Linked DNA regions of Homo sapiens: all the other regions are linked to region 1. The links are contacts of gene promoters, found by promoter capture Hi-C in human tissues and cell types (Jung and others, 2019). All regions are on one chromosome and are shown on one strand. The core of a region is centred on a gene start or on the middle of the fragment in contact, and the rest is flanking DNA. Distances in the headings are between cores, read along the strand shown.

Evidence for each region. Contacts are between HindIII fragments. The study calls those that stand out against the background at their distance.
Region 2: a contact is called between a fragment that was not itself captured here and the fragment with the promoter of PCP4 in region 1, in 1 of the 25 tissues and cell types used here (dorsolateral prefrontal cortex).
Region 3: a fragment that was not itself captured here is called in contact with the fragment with the promoter of PCP4 in region 1 in 1 of the 25 tissues and cell types used here (spleen).
Region 4: a contact is called between a fragment that was not itself captured here and the fragment with the promoter of PCP4 in region 1, in 2 of the 25 tissues and cell types used here (dorsolateral prefrontal cortex and pancreas).

The regions. Positions count from the first base shown.
Region 1 is chr21:39,865,406-39,868,936 of GRCh38, forward strand. PCP4 (Purkinje cell protein 4) reads left to right here and starts at 2,033. Exons shown (of 3, transcript NM_006198.3): 1 at 2,033-2,105. The coding sequence starts at 2,097. The HindIII fragment of the contact is 8,471 bases long and covers 1-3,531 here.
Region 2 is chr21:40,066,240-40,069,653 of GRCh38, forward strand. The region is part of intron 27 of DSCAM (DS cell adhesion molecule); the gene reads right to left. Among named protein-coding and RNA genes, the nearest start is that of MIR4760, 140 kb to the right of the region's middle. The HindIII fragment of the contact is 4,719 bases long and covers 1-3,414 here.
Region 3 is chr21:40,100,533-40,103,718 of GRCh38, forward strand. All of the region lies in intron 20 of DSCAM (DS cell adhesion molecule), which reads right to left. Among named protein-coding and RNA genes, the nearest start is that of MIR4760, 110 kb to the right of the region's middle. RefSeq lists an enhancer at 2,087-2,588. The HindIII fragment of the contact is 4,253 bases long and covers 1-3,186 here.
Region 4 is chr21:40,049,255-40,052,620 of GRCh38, forward strand. It overlaps DSCAM (DS cell adhesion molecule), which reads right to left. Exons shown (of 33, transcript NM_001389.5): 30 at 2,704-2,853. Among named protein-coding and RNA genes, the nearest start is that of MIR4760, 160 kb to the right of the region's middle. The HindIII fragment of the contact is 3,097 bases long and covers 226-3,322 here.

The DNA of each region.
Region 1 (3,531 bases), core at 783-3,282:
AAGGCAATCAGCTCAGACCATAACCCATTCTCCCCAATAGTCTTCATAGTCCCTTGGTTGGTCCCAAAGAATTGCTGAGTCTACCCAGCAAAGCCTCAGCCCAGCCCTGCACCTCCAATCCTGCCCCTCTACTTGGAGCCTCAGCACTAATTGCTGTGCTGCCAACCTCAGGCTGCTGCAGCCCTTGATGTGTCTTTGTGTTGTTAGAAAATGCAGGTCTGCTCCAGAGCCAGCCAGCAGAGCACAGGCTGATTCTCCACATGCCCTCTGCACAGCCTGGAGGACCACAGCAGGGACCCCATGGAGGCTCACACTGGGAGACCCCTTCTACACCTCCAGGCTGTGGGGGTCCAGCCCCCAACAGGGCAGGAGGCCCCTGGGGAGGGTGTGGTTTTTGCCCCTGAGAAATCACAGGTGTCTCCTAGTATAGATAAGCAAGCACCCTTCTTCCAATCTGTCAATCTGTCCTACATCGCAGATGACACTATGGCTCCAGTTCCTCACCCTGCCCTCCTCCTCCTTCTCTCCCACTACTAACCACCTGGGCAACCCTAAAGGCATCCCACGTGGGCCTTCCCAAGCGTGGCATTGGGGGCAAGGAGGAGGAGGGGAGTGAGAGAAGGAGGATGCTGTCTTCATTAGTTTGCAAATGATTTGTGTGGTCAGGATATGTAAATAAATAATTTATATACATATAAAAGAAACGAATATAACACACATATTTTATATAATATATATAATGTTCATTTCTGTCGCTCTGTGAAATATAGGTTATTTTATAATAACTCATGTATGAGACTCTGTCTTGCTGGCTGGTGTTCCCACGCTGTGGGCGAGGGTGCTGACCAGCTGGTGCTCCTGGCCAAGGCCTCTGAGGGCAGCCTGTGCTCGCCGGTGCCCATTTGGGGGCGCATGGCCTTCTGCTTGCTGTCCAAGGTGGACCTGAGGATGTGGTCGCATCGGTGACCTGGGCATGTAAGGAGGGCAGTCCAGGTCAGAGGGCGTGGGGCTGCTGAGCTGAGGAGAGAGGGTTGATGGGCTGGAGTCTGGTGGCCTGCTCTGCACAGGGAGATGAGGGGTGCTGGGGACGGGTGGCAAGACGCTTCAATCTTCTCGCCAGACCCTCTCAGTCCTGTACCGGGACTGGCAGAGTAACAGATGTGAATGTGCCTTCAGTCTGCACAACGCTTTTTTGGGACAGTTGAGGGCCCACTCTGATGCCTTGAAGACTCTTCAGAGCCTCACGATGTTGGGACTGAACAAAGGATGGAACCTCTTCCCGGAAAAGCTGAACAGGACTAAGGCAAGGAGACCTTCAACCAGGCCAGGGCCAATGCCCAGGCTCCTTCCTGGCCCCACTGTGGTTGTGAGGAGGGCACATCAGCAAGGCTGCTGGAGCCGCTCGCCTCCTTTGTTGAGGTCGTGGGGACCCATTCCCATGTCCCAGTCCATCTACTCTTATCCTTCCAGCTCAGGGTACAAGCAGGGCGACAGATATGGGATAGGGGAGAGACAGCAGAGATATTAAAGTCCTTGGGCTGAGTTTTGTGTTATAAAGGGCAAGGGAAACACAGCTCCTGGGAAAACCTGAAAGTGCGTGAGCGGGCACGCAGGTATTTTCAGAGCTCCTCTTCCCTTAGAAAAACAATCCTTCCCATTGACATTTGAAAGGTATTTTACATGCATGTAAATCTTGCACTCATTGAAAAACGCACAATGGCATCCCTGTGATGATCTTTGAAACTTTAGCTTTTACTTTTTACTTTTTTTTTTTTTTTAAAAGAGACAGGGTCTCGTTCTGCTGCCCAGGCTGGAGTGTATTACTTTTTAAAGAAATCGAGCATTTCCTTCCATCCTGGCGGAATTTGGAGCAGCGACCTAACGTGCCGTTCTCTTTTGCACCACTAGGTGGCCCCTGGTGCTCTCAGATGTCGGCCAGGCTTGCAGACAGGTGAATGCATCTCATTGGCTCCAGGGAGGCATGATGCCACCGGGCAGCTCTTTTTAAGAGAAAAGCCAGAACCGGTGGAGCAGCGACCCCTGAGCAGTGTTCTCTGTGCTGAGCGGCGGGACTGAGCTGTTGAGTTAGAGCCAACATGAGTGAGGTGAGTGATGCTTCGACCTGGAGAGGGAAACTTAGGAGTGAGAAGGGACCTCGGCTGAAGGATTAGTCTCAGGAAATGTGAGGGACTTAGCAGTGCTGAGGAACAAATTAATCCTGTAATTATTTGCTTGGAGAACTGACAGGATTAATCTCTTGGTTTGAATGGTAAGTGCAGAAATTGGTTAAGTTTGCAACTTCTACAATTAGCCTGAGGAGGAGAAAGGTTTGCTTTCTGATTGAATGGTGACTTTGAAAAGTGCTTTGGGTTTTAGAGCTCAGAAGAGAAAGCCAAATGTTTTATTCTCTTACGAAGATGCGTGTCTTTGCATGATTCCCGCGGTGATACCTTTCAGAATGTGAGTGGGCAGGTGGTCATCTGGTGAATGCAAGCCATGGAAGGGAAGGGGACAAGGTGGGGAAAGGGCTGGCCGTTGGGTGGCATTTCATGGCTCAGTTGTACAAACTACCTCTGCAGTTAATCAGAGCACCAGGGAAAGAAATGCAAAAAGTAGTAGGAACTGGGAAACATCCGTGTGTATAGATCTGTGGCTCTAAGACCGGAGGCGGCCCCGGCAGAAGAAGAGCTACAATTTTGCAAATCCAAAGTCACTTCTCTAAACTTGTTTATACAGAATGTGTTTTACTGGGGCCAACTGACAGCACGTTTGTTTTTCTAAAATCATCTTCTCCTTTTTTCTCATCTATGAAGCAGATTAGCGGTGGTACAACACCATTCTCTAATTCAACTCAATAACCGAGCCAAATGCATCTTCATTTCCTCTTGGTTGGCACTTAAATAATTACTTTTAAAGATCTTTTATCTTCTCTGTCTCTTTTTGACAGATGGATGATTCTTTTCTTGGAAGTCTAGGATAAAATTAACAACTTCAGAAATAAAATGCCTCCTCCCTGCTTTTATCTCTCTGATGGGTGATTTTTGATGTAAACATGACAAGAAGAAGAGCAAAGCACTATAAAACTTAGAAATGGGGTTTAGGACAAAGCCAGGGGTTTGAGGCAGGGAGAGACCAACTGTGGGGTGGAAGATGGGAATTCTCCCACCACCACAATCAATGGTACCTGTAACAGCAGCTAACACTTGCCTAATGGTCTGTGTGCCGACAGTGTCAGGCTGTCTCTGCATCTGTCACCTTCTTTGAACCTCTCAACAACTCCGTGCAGTGGGCACCATTATTATTCCCAATTGACAGATGAGGACACTGAGGCACAGAGATGGGAACTAAGTGGTTTGAGGTCACCAGCTAAAGAACAGTAGAGCCAAGACTTGGGCTGCAATGCTGGGTGGTTGACTGCCGGGTGAATCTTGATGTCTAAATGTGTATGGAATTTGCTGAACAGAGGGGATGGCAGAGGTTGGAGGAGGAGAGGGGAGGTGAAGAGAAAGAAAGAAAGGAGCTGGGGCTCTG
Region 2 (3,414 bases), core at 415-2,914, 200 kb after region 1:
AGCTGCACAAAGATTTCCTGAGGACACATTTAATTGTGAGAGACATCTTCCTTTTCTTGTGCAGAAATTCCTTGATGTAATTTTAACCTGAAGTCATTTGCCAGCTGTTCAGATATTTCCATGTAGCTGCATTTCCCTTGCTTGGCCTCAGCTTTCTCTTTTCTGGGTTACATTCTCTAATTTTCTCAGCCACTCCTCATACGGAATGATTTCTAGGTAATTCCCTACTTGGGAATCTCTTCTTTGAAAGGTTTGTGATTTTTTTATTTCTCTATAAAATGAGGCTGAGAAAGACGCTGGTAATTCTTGATCTTCTAGCACACTAGGGAGAGCACAATGCTCATTATACGTGTTGCAAATGAATTTTTTTTTACAACTTCTATAGAAGACTTCACAATTATTCCTATTAAACTGTATCTTCTTGCTTCCAGCCTTTCAAAATCTCTTAAAATGTGGATTTGTCCCTCTAATACATTAGCTTCCCCACCAGGATGTATGTGGCCTCCAAGATTGGATTAGCCTGCCCATGCTTTCAGCTACATCCTGGTGTACCCTTATTAATCAGCCCTGTCAAAATGCAAATGGAGTTTGTCTGGGCCCCTGGTGGTCCCTTCCCTTCCCTGATTGCTCACAAAACATCCTTTCTATAACCTCAACTAACTTATTTCAGTCTATAATGTCCAGAATTAATCTATTGTTGTTGAAAATGGGTCCAGGGTCTAGATGCTCTTTGACTTACGATTACCTCCTGATGAACCCATCATCAATTGAAAATATAATTAAGTCAAAAATGCATTTAATATGCCTGACCTACCAAACATCAGGGCTTAGCCTAGCCTATCTTCAACGTGCTCAGAACATTTACCCTACCCTACAGTTGGGCAAAACTATCTAACACAGAGCTTATTTTATAATAAGGTGTTGAGTATCTCATGTAAAAATAATGGATCACATATCACTAACCCAGACAAAGATCAAAATTCAAAATACAGTTTCTACTGAATGCATATCATTTTTGCACCATTGCAAAGTCAAAAACTCCTAAGTTGAACCATAGTAAGTCAGGGACCATCTGCATAATCATTTTCTAACACCTCTAATTTACATTTGATTGTTCAAAGGTTATCCAGAAAGATCTTGGGGTTATGTCTGGAAAAATTTTGTTCAGAACCCTAAAATGTTATCCTTCAGAATCATGGGACTGGAACCCCATGACAGCTTCCCTAATTTTTTAAGTGGTGGAGATCTTTCCTTTCAGTGAAACAGCACAGCATTTATTCTGTCTGCATTAGGCTGCTTACGCTTTGGAACTTGTGTAATAGTTCTTTGTAAACATTGTCTGCAAAAAGCAACATCTCCACCTCCACATAATGGCTAATACAGAGTATGTTTTGAAAAAAAATAAATCCTTTTAAACTATCAGGGTGCTGATTATTTTCATAAGCATCCTGAGTTTCTCCCTTCCCCTCCCCTCCCCTCCCCTCATTCCCTCCCTCCCCTCATTCCCTCCCTCCCTCCCTCCCTCCCTCCCTCCCTTCCTTCCTTCCTTCTTTTTATAATTCCTGGTCCACGTTTTCTGATTCAAATAGCATTTCTCCTGGTACACATCAAGCAAAGCAGATGCTGAGCAGCTCTCCTGTCTACCTGCCATCTGTTAATATGAGAACATTGTTCACAGCCTTGTTCTTCTTGCCCAAACACAGCTAAACAGCCCTTGCATTGCCTGTCACATTTTTTCCCACACATTTCAGATCAGCCTGAGATTCAGACTTCGCGACATCTTTTCTAAAGCCGCTTGCTACTCCCACACTTCCATCCTTGGCTCTGGGCTCCTCCCTTATCTGTTGGGCTGGGAAATGATGGAGAAATGATACCAGGATAATCTAGTGATATTAAAATGTGGAAGGAAGGAATTTCAAAAGACAACATTTGCTAACACTCTGAATGCTGCAAAGAGGGCTAAAAAATGATGGCTGAAAGGATAATTTGGAGATCAGAGAATAACTGGTCATCTGTCTTCAGGAGAACAGTTACATTTGGGTGGCGAGTGGAAGGGGACTGTGGGAATTTGGGAGTAATTGAGAGGTAGTGTAGCTGAGGACAGAATACTCTCAAGTATTCAGTGGAGAAAAGAATCAGAGAGACAGTAGGATGAAGATATGCAAGCTAGAAGGAATATGTATATGTGCCTCTCTCTGTATATAATATATACATATTTAAAATATAATTAGGGGAAGGCTGAAGGGTAGTGAATATCGAAATACAAAATCAATAGACCAAGTATTTTTGATGGGCAAACATAAAATTATATAGTAGCTATTGATACTGTGTTAATACATCTTCTAATTCCAGGTATAATTGATAAACCTTTAGAGCTTACTTAATATTGATGAGACAACCTGTTTCTTACTTGAATATTCAAAATCCTGCAGAAGTTTCATGGCAAGAGGAGTAGGGTAGGGAGATTGATCTGAACTCTCTTCTAGCTCTGCCTGGACTCATATGTGATTCTGGATAATTCTATAGCTGGCCTTCAGTTTTCACGTCAGAAAATGGGGTATGATGGCTGGACGCAGTGGCTCATGCCTATAATCCCAGCACTTTGGGAGGCTGAGGCAGGCGGATCACCTGAGGTTGTGAGTTCGAGACCAGCCTGACCAACTTGGAGAAACCCCGTCTCTACTAAAAATACAAAATTAGCCGGGCATGGTGGTGCATGCCCACAATCCCAGCTACTTGGGAGGCTGAGGCAGGAGAGTCGCTTGAACCCAGGAGGTGGAGGTTGTGGTGAGCTGAGATCATACCATTGCACTCCAGCCTGGGCAAAAAGAGCAAAACTCTGTCTCAGAAAAAAAAAAAAAAGAAAAAGAAAAGAAAGAAAATTGGGGCATCATAATGGGCAGTTCATACTCAACCATTTTGCATGGCTATTGAGAGACTAAGGCAGGATGGTGTATAGTGAAGTACTATGGAGAAGAAAGAGGAGCGAAACAATGGGAAGCATTAGTAGCCTGTGGATTAGTACATGGTTAGATCGAGTTTTGGGAAATGGCACCTCTGGTTGGATGAGGAGGCTCCCAGCTTGGTCTTGCCCAGTTCCTGTGTTCTGTTTATAGACCACAGCTTGCATCCTGGGGTTGTGCCTGGCATGAAGGTGCACATCAGCAAGGCAGAGCATGACACAGCATGGCGTGGGAGAGTGCCCACCATGGCCCCAGGCACTGCAGCTGTGCAAAGCTTGAGAGGCTGAACTGCCTCACATTTTGCACACTCAAATGCTTCTTTAAAAAAGAGAAATCTTGTTTATAGCCACATGGCTACATTTTCATATCTGAAGTTCTAGTTACGTAAAATGGAAGACGCTTAGGTTAATACTTCTACTGGGCAGTCACTTGCAGATATCCACAAAAAAAC
Region 3 (3,186 bases), core at 207-2,706, 230 kb after region 1:
ACTCTCTTCCAAATATAGAGAATGTTCAATGAGAAGGGATCACTTTGATTTCCAGATTTCGCCTGATATATCAGCTGGGTTGCTATTTCAGAGACTCTGAATCTTTTTTTTTTTTTTTTTTAAAGAAACAAAGCAAAGCTTCGCTATCAAGGACAACAGATAAACACTGCGGTATAAAGAAGGGCAAACTCACAATGGAGTTTCTTAGGGATTAATGAACCAAATGTGGCAAAAGGAGAAATCTGTGGGGAAGCAACAGAGACACTTTTCTTAATATTTAAATATTTCATTTTCTTCAGGTAGACTTTGAACTCTCCAGTCTCATCTTCTTTAGAGTTAAGACAGACGTGTCAGTCATCCTAGATTTTGTTATGCCTAAAGTGTGAATTAATTTTGAGTGGACTACAGTAATTGTGCTAACCATTTGTTTGAAGAGAAGACATAAGAGTTCCTTTGTGACCTGTGGAAATACAGAAACAGCCAACATTACGAAGTTGCCGCCAGGCATGGACTTGAGGGATCCCATCCCCCATGTCCCTGAACCAGAATGCCAGGGATTCCCTTCCATGGCTTATTTTTAATCCTGCTCTGTCTATGCCCAGCTTGAGGAAGTGGATGGGACATTTGTGGACTGGGGTTGCCAATTATTTTGCATCTGTCATATATTCCTCTTGGCTAGCTGAGGAAAAAGCCTGTTATTTCTCATCTAAAATGTGTTTAAACATGTAGGCTCTATCCAAGTTGAGAAGCAAGCCAACATTTATTATTAATTAATCACTTCTCAATTGAAAGGCTCTAAGTGGCTGCCAAGTTACTGATTTCTTGGTCCACCAGATAACATGGTGGCATGAGAAGAACAGGGCTCTCTCTGGCTCAGCGGTCCCCAGCCTTTTTGGCATCAGGGACAGATTTCGTGGAAGACAGTTTTTTTTTTCACAGATGGATGGACGTGGTAGGATGGGATGGTCTTGGGATGAAACTGTTTCACCTCAGATCATCAGGCATTAGTTGGATTCCCATAAGAAGCATGCAGTATAGGTCCCTAGTATTAGTCCGTAGCCCGGGGGTTGGGGAATCCTGCTCTACCGATGTCATGTAACAGGGGCAATCCACAGTGTTCTTAGGGGAAGATTTGGGTATTTGGTCTGAGGACACACACATAAAATGTAAAATATGCATGTTGCTTATGTAATGAACCATCTCAAATACTATTCTTACAGTGGGCTGGTCATGGTTTTTACTGTGGGAGGTGGTGGGGGGGGGTCCAGGCAGACACTGCTGCCTTCAAAGTATGGAGGTCTGTGGATAAGGGATGTTGGCGAGAGTTATAGGACCCCATGAGCCAGACATAGAAGCTTGTTGGACTATCGTTCTCTCCTTTGGGCTGTGGGAAGAAAATCTAGGCAAAAGTTCTTAGCTTCATGCCTCGTAATAGGAAGGGCTTGTAAATAATTACTGAGTTTCAATTAATGGTCATTTACTGAGTTCAGTTGCAGTGTGTAGATTATAAGGCAAGTTCCTGCCCCCGGGGAGCAAGAAGTGACCACAGCTTGGCAAACAGATTAATTTAAAATGAGGCACCATAGAAGTCTGACCAATTCCTACTAAAATTTAGATATAAACTCGTTTGAACCTTTCTCTAAAACCAACCCTGTCATAGTTGAAGACATGGATGAATATTTATAAGATGCCTAAAAAATAAATGGAAACTTCATATATTTGTTTTAAAAAATATTTATAGCAAGGTTTTACAAGACTTCTGACATGTTTGCCTCCCCAAAGCCGTATCCAGAGTGGAAAATACAGTAAATGGGATAAATCTTGTGACACCCAAGCCAGAGCGTTCACATTTCAAGCGTTTTGTCTTTGTATGTTACTGCTTTAGGTCTGCTGGGTAGAGTCGTGGGTTCCTAAGGAACTAAATGTGCACAGTTTACTCTTCCAGTCAAAAGAGTGTAAGGGTTGTGAGGAAGTTAGTTTTCTCCTAGTGCTTCAGGGTCAACTCATGGAAAGCCTGGGAACAGCGTCTTCTAGACCTGCCTTCATTCCACAATTATTGTTGCCTTGTGGTGTTGATATAATATTTTTCTTTTCATGTGTAAGATGCTTTTGACCAGTAAATAAGATATAATTAGCCACAGTGAGGCACTTTAAACACTCTTTGGTCATGTCTATAAAACTAGACGTTTACCCAATAATTGCCAAATTCATTTCCGAACCCCTCACATTACTTAGCTTGTAGCTGCACTTGTAAGACCTTGCAGAGCCTTCTCTAGTCCTCTCAATCAGGGGCTAAGTCTGCCCTTTGTCTTTCATAGCCTTTGCCTTTATTCCACTGTGGGTTATGGTCTTGCATGTGCTTACTGCATCTCCCCAGGGGTCAGGCTCCCCGACCCATCCCTCTACTCCTTTTACTCACCCATCCCTCTACTCACTCTGCAGGGAACCTGGTTCAGAGCATTGCTTAGAGCTGGGACTCAATGACCAGTAACTGGAATACACTGAAGAAATTCTTGTTGTACTAGGTGAGTTTAGTAATGACCTAGAAATGATTTGAGTACGATAGGAAATAATGAGGATAAAATGACTACAAAGCCATAGGCTGTTCATGTCAAACTATTCAGCCTGTCTGATATAAAAGGAATTCTACTTTTAAAAATTTCAATTAACTTTTTAATGAAAAACTAATTCTATAAGGAAATGTGATGTTTTAAAAAGCTCTGATAGCTAATTGTTAACATGCAATTAAAAAAACTTGAAGGCTGTGATTTCATAGATAGAATGTCCACAGCAGTGAAAAAAAAACTCCCCCAAGCAATAAACAAAATTGATAGCTCTTTTAATTATAGGGTAAGGGAACTTTTAGAATGCTTAACATCTTCTTGTTTAGTGGCAAAGAAATGGCCTGGATTCCATTAAGAATTAGCAGTTCACTGCATTAATTTAAGATTTTTAAAATTCTTATGTATAATATATTTTGATCTAATTTCCATTTTATTTCACAGTTCCCATCTATAAAAGAAGATGTCATGGCAGAAAGATCTTCCTAAAGGCATAGGTTGAGAGGCCAACATTGGTAGAAATGGGATAACAGCCAGGCAATTCTGGTAGTTTCCTCTGCCTTTCACTGAGATTACTGTAGATACCATTACATATATGACTATATATATGACTATATATAGACTA
Region 4 (3,366 bases), core at 524-3,023, 180 kb after region 1:
CTGAAAGATGAGGACAGCTGTTTCTCTGTCTCACCTTTTCCCTGCCTTTCACTGTGCTCCAGTGCCACTTCCATCCTCATCATGCGGGGAACCTTGGGAGCTTTTCCCTGCTGCCCCCTCTGCTCCTGCTGTGACTCTGATCTTGTTTCATGTCTTCCCCTCACTGGAAGTCCTCCTGAATGACTTGGACCCAAGAGAGCCCCTCCCACTGCTCCACACGCCCGCTGACTCACCATGGCTTCATTCTCTTTCTGTCTAGGACTTACTGAGAAATGAAAACTACTTTAGTTCCATGTCTAATGTCTGCCCCCTGACTAGGATGAAATGAATGTCTTTTTGCATCTTACTCATGGTGTATCTCCATCATACAGCACTGAGCCATATACGTAAAGTGAAACCTGAATAAATACTTTTGAGTGCTGAATGAACGCATTAACATTCCCAGCCCTGCTTCCAACTTTATAGCCATGAGATACACACACGTCCCTCCCATGTGCGTCCTGCCTGGCACTCGCTGACCACTGGTTTACAGTATCTGCTGTGACTCCGGTTCATGTCTCTGTTGATATTTTACATGCCAACAAATCAACTTCCCCATTATTCTGGGGCTGACCATGAAGCTGGAAGGTTGCCAGTGCTTTTGTTTTGGGCTGCTGCTTCTCCTGTCTTAACTATTTATGACTAGCTTTATGCATTCTCGGCTGCTAGCTGACCATTGACAGGGAAGCAGAAATGCATGTTGCTTTTTACCTGGCAGGAAGAACTGATGTGCCGGAGGGGTCCTGCCCTGCTGCGTTACATGCAGGAAACATTTCTAACCCTTGGGGCAGTGTTTCTCAATGTGGGGTCCAAACGGCCAGCATCAGAATCACCCAGGGTGTCTGTTACCATGCGGATTCCTAGGCCAGAATCTCTGGGTGGAGGCCTGGAATTGATATTTAAATAGGCACCAGGTGATTCTGATGCATGTAAAGGTGGAGAACGAGACCCAGGGCATCTGCTCTGTTGTCTCTTTTGCCTGCTCTTCTGCCACCGTTTCCAACAGAATGCTGAAGCCAATGCTGCATCACTCTAAAAATCTAATCCTTTCAATATCTGTAACTTTTTCTGATTTAGCAGCAAAAAAGTGGCTCTTAAACCCATTGGAGCAGTGTCTTGGAGTAGCAGCAAGCCACACCAGGCAGTTCACAAGGGAGAAGCCAACGGCTGAAGAGATGTCAAAGCCCTTGAATCTTTTTTTTTTTTGGAGACAGAGTCTCGCTCTGTCGTCCAGGCTGGAGTGCAGTGGCGTGATCTCAGCTCACTGCAAGCTCTGCCTCCCAGGTTCACGCCATTCTCCTGCCTCGGCCTTCTGAGTAGCTGGGACTACAGGTGCCCGCCACCAGGCCGGCTAATTTTTCTTATTTTTAGTAGAGACGAGGTTTCACCATGTTAGCCAGGATGGTCTCAATCTCCTGACCTCGTGATCCGACCGCCTCGGCCTCCCAAAGTGCTGGGATTGAGCCACTGCGCCCAGTCTGGATCATTTTTTAAGAGCAAGGCTCTGGCACACACCCCTTTGCAAAGCTAATTCCCACTCATATCCCGTTTATGTCTTCAGAATGTATTAATGTGATCAAAGAAGAAAGGCGGTAAGAAGATTAGACAAAAGGAAGAGGTAAAAGACTTCTTTAGAATGTAGAATATTCTTGAAAACATTTTTTAAATGAATTTCAATGCCTGCTGAAACTGTTTTCTGTATATTACAATGTTATTTCGTAGGCAATGGGTTTACTTCATAAAGCTCACTGCATTTCGCAAATGCTTCCCAAGCTAGGATTTATGAAGAATAGCTTTTAACATTATAATAGTTATTTTTCTAATAATAACACACTATTCTAAGAATGTAAATTTTTGCAAAGAAATTGATTAGAGATTTGAAAGCTAGACGTCAAAGTTTCCAAAATGATAATAATCAGGACATCAATTTCTCAGTCTTTAAAGAGATTTAGGAACGATTCCAATTATGAAGAAATAAGAGTATCTAATTAATAAGCTCTAGATACATATTAGGGGATTCACCTTCATTGCAGTAATTAATTTCCATATATTATGGATGCAAATATTAATAACAAAATCCAACATAATCTTCACATTAACTAGAATTATAATTTTTCTCAAACAGTGTGTTCAGGGGCAAAAGCATAAGCTTTGGGGATAGATGGGTCTGTTTCTGAATCTTGGTTTTACTACTTATGTGTGCAACTTTATACTGTTTGCATAATTTATCTGAGGCTGCAGTTTTCTCATCTGCAGAATAGAGGCTATGATACCTGCTTCACGAGTAGGTATCTTACAGGATTGTTGCAAAGATAACGTGCATGACATCATCGTTCTATCCCAATACTGGCATACAGCAGATACACACTAAAGTAGATTACTTTTTTCCTTTTCTGTGTTGCTTAAATTAAAAAAATAAATACATGTACCTGAAATTTCTAGCACTTTTTATAGTAACCAATACTAACAGTAATTCAACTGACATAATAATAGCCAAGATCCATCAATAACAGCTCATTATCCCAATTAGGGATGTTATTATACCCATTTGTTTCTCAGGCATAGGTATGAAAAGCCACACATTTTCATTTGAGAGAGAAAGAACATTACTATGTTTTCAGCATTGTTAACACCCACACATTTTAAGCATTGTTGACCACTCACTCGTTCCCGGCCGAGCGTCTGAAACATCCACTAAGGGCCCAGTGGCCTGAGACACCGATTGGTAATGGACCGTGTGAGTGACCGTCAGGGACTTCTGCTTAGCTGCCTCTCCAAAGTCAGCATCCGTCAACAGAACCGTGGAGCGATCATCTACAGGATGGCAGGAACACAGAAAGCCAAACACGTTTATCTCCCTTCCAACCACTCCCTGGCCTTTTCTCTCCTGAGGCACTTGTGTTATTGTTAATGACAACCACAATAATAGCCCCATCTAAAGTGACAAAAATGATTGAAAATTCAAGCACTGAATTAGCATTACTCTAGAGTGCTAGGAATAGAAGCTTCTTCCTAGGGGTTGGCTTTGGGAGCAATGAGCTAAGAAGAACCATGACTATGCAGAGAAGGAGCTCTCTTTTCTCTTTGGGCTTGGCTTTTCATTAAGCTAACATTGATTTGAACTCTGGATTTATGTGTTTGTCAAAAGCTTCTCTGAGACATCATCTGCGATGCCAGCCCCCTCACCAGTGATGAGGCTGTCAATGAAGACAGGTCCCTTTGGCTGCTGGGAAGCTCTGTTTGCAGGACTAGAAAATCGCCACTACAGTTCTCTCTACTGAGGTTTGCTCTCATTCTGAACTTGGCTAATGTTTGGAGGGGAAATAA